Linked DNA regions of Homo sapiens: region 2 is linked to region 1. Evidence: promoter capture Hi-C in human tissues and cell types (Jung and others, 2019). All regions are on one chromosome and are shown on one strand. Each heading gives the region's core, a stretch centred on a gene start or on the middle of the fragment in contact. The rest is flanking DNA. Distances are from core to core; before and after follow the strand shown.

Region 1 (2,861 bases), core at 171-2,670:
AGCCTGGGTGACAAGAGCCAAATTCTGTCTCAAAAAAATCACCCAAAAACAAACAAAAAACTCTGGAAATTTACATTTTTAATGAGCAATTAATTTGGAGTACAGCCTAGCACGTGGATTGTTTTTACAAGGACTGTTAACCCACGAAAATATTTTCAAACCTCAGTTTTGAGAGGCCTTTCTCAAACTGTGTGTTTTAGTGAAAATCCATTTAAAATCATTAATTGCCTCTAACCATCTCATAGCTTTGGTCAGGTATTTTTTGAAGAATTACACATTGCTTGGCATTTGACCAATGTTAAGTGGGCCTACTGAAATCACCAGCAATCTAGAAATTAGAATTACTTGATTCCATAGTTATGTTTGTAACTAAGAGATTGTTATTATTTTATTTCAAAGCTACCATAACGTCCTGCATGTCTCCAGTTTATCTGATGGAGCTGAACTAATCTGAGTATATTATGAACACAAGCAAGTAAGTTATTTTTAAAAATGAACCTATTTGTACTAAAAATTTACAGGTAGAAGGGTCGTCTACTAACCATATTATCTAGAACTGTGTGGATCTTTAAAATGCTAAATTAGGTGGTGGTAATAAAAAAAGAATCACCTCTAACCAGGTGCAGCAAACACAAAATACAGTAAACAAATGAACATATCCTTGTGCTGTAATTTGTTATCAAAATATTATTTCTGGGAATGTGGGATGTCCACTGCTTTTTTTCCCCTTCTTCTTTCTCTTCTTCTTTTCTCTCTCTCTTTCTCTCTCTCTGTGTGTGTGGTGTGTTCTCCAGTCTCCAGAGACATAGACTAGAATTTTAAATTAAAATATTTAGACAACTAGTTACAATCAAACTTCTCCCACAGGAGTGGAAGGAAAGTCCAATGGAGAAATTGTTTTGTAAATTAAAGACATTACTGCACAAGCCTAAAATGATGTTACTGGGGATTTTAATCTTTTTACCTGGATTCAGATTAAAAGTCATCAGTTTTCCCTCTCATCAACAATTTATTCATTCATCCATTATATTTTTATGGATTGATATGCCCAACATTATACTAATTAATCCAATTTATAAGGTAATCTATAATCCTATTTAGGTTAGAAGGGTTTTTGGCAAATGTTCACTCTGGAAAACTGGGTTGTAAGAATATTGGCGATCTCAATTTTATTTCTGTGTATGTAAAAAGAAAGGCTTCATATCTAAAATAACTTTACCTAAGTATACAAAGTTGTTTCAGGGTAACAAAAGAGCGAAAAACAAAACTGTAAAAGGGCCAAGGACAGAGGAATGGGCAAATGAAGGAAGGGCGGAGAGGCAGAACAAGAGCTGAAGGAGAAAATTCTGTGGAGGGGTGTGGGAAAGGGGTGGAGCTGGCAACCTTGCCTTAAAAGCTGAGTGATAGCCCATACTAAAGACTGGTTGAGCCGGGTAGGGAAAGCAGCCTAAAGCCCGGGACAGGCACACAGGCCCAGGTGTGTAGGCCACAGCAGCCGCAGTCCTGAAAGGCTGCAACACCCAGACCTCCAGGAGAGACCAGGCCCAGGATGCCTCGCCTGTTCTTGTTCCACCTGCTAGAATTCTGTTTACTACTGAACCAATTTTCCAGAGCAGTCGCGGCCAAATGGAAGGACGATGTTATTAAATTATGCGGCCGCGAATTAGTTCGCGCGCAGATTGCCATTTGCGGCATGAGCACCTGGAGCAAAAGGTCTCTGAGCCAGGAAGATGCTCCTCAGACACCTAGACCAGTGGCAGGTGAGAGCTCCCGCCCCCTCCCGGCCTTCCCGCGCTTCCCATTGGTTACTCTGGGGCGGCCGCCCAATTGGAACGGCGGCCTGCACGTCCGACTCGAGATCTCATTGGCTGCCACCGCTCAGCCCCTACTCAGCCGTGGCTGGTCCCTAAAGTTTGGGCTTTTCCTTTGCCAGGTGATTTTATTCAAACAGTCTCACTGGGAATCTCACCGGACGGAGGGAAAGCACTGAGAACAGGAAGCTGCTTCACCCGAGAGTTCCTTGGTGCCCTTTCCGTAAGGCAGTCAGAGCGACGGGGTGGAAAGGGAGGGGAAGCCTCAGAGGAGGTGACGCCGCCCGGAGACCCGCAGGAGGCCGGGCGCACTCCTGCACCCCACAGGAAAGCCAGGCGGCCAGACAGCGGGCGTGCTGGTGGGGGCACCTGAACAGGGCTTCTCGGATAGAGAGGAGAGGGGACAAACACTGAGGCGGCGCGCTAGTTATCAAGCCTGTTTGCGCGCCTGTAGGACGGGGCAACACTCTGAGGTCTCTGTGAGGGTCCCGTGATGGGAAGACAGGAAGGGCCTTACACTTAATGACTCTCCTAGTCCAGAAGTTGGGCTGTGGCCTTTGCCATTGGAAACGTTCTTTAAAATAAACAAACAGAAAATCCCAAAGGAAAGAGTCTGACCTCCCGCTTCTTTGATCTGGGTATTGAAGTTCATTTGTGAGGCAGGGGATGGAAGAGAAAGGAAAGGCTTGAATGCCTTTAGGAGAAACTCAAGAGGACCAGAGACAAGGAAAGCAGGCCGTTCAGACCATCATAGCTGAAGACCCTACTGATGCTTTCAAGCATTTGGAAGCTGCAGTGGGTTTGCTTTAAAGGCAAGCTCTTAGAGTTGAGTACAGCTCAATCTGAAATGGCTTTTAAAAATATTTTAGTATTTATAAAGTAGCAGTGGAAACTCATGGAGGTATATACTAGTCTAAGAAGTGTAACGGGTCATATTAAATTCAGAGAAAGTAACCGCAGTTGCAAATACTAAGTGTTTTGTATTAGTATGACATGTAATTTATGATAAACCGCAACTAAATTTTATAGGCTATATGCATATACTATATA
Region 2 (2,861 bases), core at 247-2,746, 350 kb before region 1:
GGAGAATGGCGTGAACCCAGAAGGCGGAGCTTGCAGTGAGCTAAGATCGCGCCACTGCACTCCCCGCTGGGCGACAGAGCGAGACTCCGTCTCAAAAAAAAAAAAAAAAAAAAAAGAAATTGTATTAAAAACAGTGCTATTACATGATCATGACATACATCTGCGTCATGACATACATACATTTGTGAAGTTCAAACAACCATTTTACATTTCTGTAAGTACAAAATATTATATTTAGCTGTTTCCAGCCAAACATTTTTACGCCTAACAGAGTGAAGTGGCAGTGTTTTGCCCAAACTACTTTACAGTAATACTGAATTCCTATCATTTTAGAGGGAGGTGGGCATGTACTCAAAGTAGAACCAAAGAAAACCAAGAAATTATCCAAGGTTTCAAATTACTTTCTAATTCTGGCTTCCTGTTTTTCAAAGGAATGACCAAGAAAATACTTAGTTTCTTCAGCAAAACCAGGTGGTTTGCTTTCTTTTTGACCATTAACTTTACTATTTTATAATGTATTTGAAACTAGAGTTTCAACACTGTAAGATACAAAAACAAAAGGGTGAAAATTCTTCAGATAAGATCATCTTTCTAATTCTTTATGTGCAATTTTATGTTCTTGCAATATGGAGAGTATGGAAGCAAAAGGAAAATGGCTTCAAATCAAATCATAACAAAGGTTTCACACATAAAAAAACAAGAACAACAACAACAACAAAAACAGACAAAATCTATGAAATACTTTTCAAAACACTGGCATCAAGCAATGAAGGCCAGTCATCCTTGAGAGATAAGAAACAACTGAAGTGACCCTCCTACTCTTACCCAGCTTACTGCCTTGTGAGAATTTCTGGGTCAGCACACTTAGAAGGCGCACTAAGACAAAGCCTGGCAGACTTCCAGAGTTGAGAAGAAGCTGAAGAGTCCAGGAAGAGTAAGACAAACATGAGACATAATGAAAAATCAACCAATCAAAACAATGCATAACTCAATCAGATGTTAAAATTAGCACAAAAGGACATTAAAACCTTTTGCTATATTTCATAATGTTCCAAATGTGAACTATATTCTGTATGTTCCAAAGGTTAGGCAATATAGAAAACTCAAACAAAACTCTAGAAACAGAAATACTAAAATATCTGAGATGAAAAAGACATTGGCTGGATGAATGACAGGTTAGACAATGATCAGAAAAGCACAGCAATAAAAATTATCCATAATGAAACACACACACACACAAAAAAACCCAAAATAAAACAGAAACAAAATCAGTGAATTGAGGAACAACTTCATGTAGCCCAATATACATATAAACAGAGTCTCCGCATGACAGGGGTAAGAGTCAGAAAAAAAATATTTAATTAAATTCAAATTTCATTTGCTTCACTTAAATTTCTTTAAAAGATAACAGGCTTTAAAACAAGAATAATAGCAGTGTATGCTGGGGTTTATACCGTGTGTAAAAATAAAATGTGTATAATATATGTTTCCTGATCCCAATAGAACAAAACTAGAAACAAATAAAAAAAATTCTGGAAAGCCCACAAATATTTTGAAGCTTAACTGCATACTTCTAAATAACCCATGAATCAAAGGAGAAAAAGGGAAATTTTAAAAATACATCATCCCAAAATTTGTGGGATGCTGCTAAAGCAGTACTAAAGAGGAAATTTACAGCCTTAAAATACTTATATTAGAAAAAAAGGAAAATCTCAAATCAATGACAAGCTTCTACCTTAAACTAGAAACAAATTAAACTAGAGCAAACGAAATCCAAAGCAAGTGGTGGAGGGTGGGGAAGCATGCAAATAACAGAGATCAGAGTGGTAATCAATGAAATAGAAAACAGAAAAATAAAATCAATGAATAAAAATCTGGGGTTCTTTTGTTATTGTTTTAGAAGATCACTAAAACTGACATATTTCTGGTCACACTGATCAGGCAAAAAAGAGCCACTAACAGAAATCAAAGAGGTGATATCACTACAAATTCTAGAGGTATTAAAAGAATAATGAGGTCACATTATTAATATGACAATAATTTTAACAACTTGGATGAGATGGACAAATTCCTTGATAAACACAAACCACCAAAGTTCACTGAAAAGAAATCTGTACCCTGAAAAGCCAATGTCTGTTAAAGAAATTATAATTCCAATTCAAATCCTTTCCACAAAGAAAATTCTAGGCTGAGACAGCATCACTGGTAAATTCTACCAACTCTTTAAGAAATAAATAATATCAGTTGAATACAGACTCTTCCAGAACACCAAAGAGAAGGAACCACTTCCTATCTCATTTTATGAGGCCTCATAACAAAACCAGACAAAGACATTATAACTACAGGCCAAGATCCCTCATTAACATATTCTTTTTTTTTATTATTATACTTTAAGTTTTAGGGTACATGTGCACATTGTGCAGGTTAGTTACATATGTATACATGTGCCATACTGGTGCGCTGCACCCACTAACTCGTCATCTAGCCTTAGGTATATCTCCCAGTGCTATCCCTCCCCCCTCCCCCCACCCCACCACAGTCCCCAGAGTGTGATATTCCCCTTCATGTCTCCCTGTGATCTCATTGTTCAATTCCCACCTATGAGTGAGAATATGCGGTGTTTGGTTTTTTGTTCTTGTGATAGTTTACTGAGAATGATGATTTCCAATTTCATCCATGTCTCTACAAAGGACATGAACTCATCATTTTTTATGGCTGCATACTATTCCATGGTGTATATGTGCCACATTTTCTTAATCCAGTCTATCATTGTTGGACATTTGGGTTGGTTTCAAGTCTTTGCTATTGTGAATAGTGCCACAATAAACATACGTGTGCATGTGTCTTTATAGCGGCATGAT

What was found. The method cuts DNA at HindIII sites, captures the fragments that hold promoters and counts their contacts. A contact is called where the count stands out against the background at its distance.
Region 2: a contact is called between a fragment that was not itself captured here and the fragment with the promoter of RLN1 in region 1, in 1 of the 25 tissues and cell types used here (heart left ventricle).

What each region holds. Positions count from the first base shown.
Region 1 is chr9:5,338,435-5,341,295 of GRCh38, reverse strand. It overlaps RLN1 (relaxin 1), which reads left to right and starts at 1,420. Exons shown (of 2, transcript NM_006911.4): 1 at 1,420-1,760. The coding sequence starts at 1,550. It also overlaps a transcript of RLN2 not described here. The HindIII fragment of the contact is 11,119 bases long and covers 1-2,861 here.
Region 2 is chr9:5,686,299-5,689,159 of GRCh38, reverse strand. All of the region lies in intron 2 of RIC1 (RIC1 partner of RAB6A GEF complex), which reads right to left. Among named protein-coding and RNA genes, the nearest start is that of INCR1, 58 kb to the right of the region's middle. The HindIII fragment of the contact is 4,729 bases long and covers 1-2,861 here.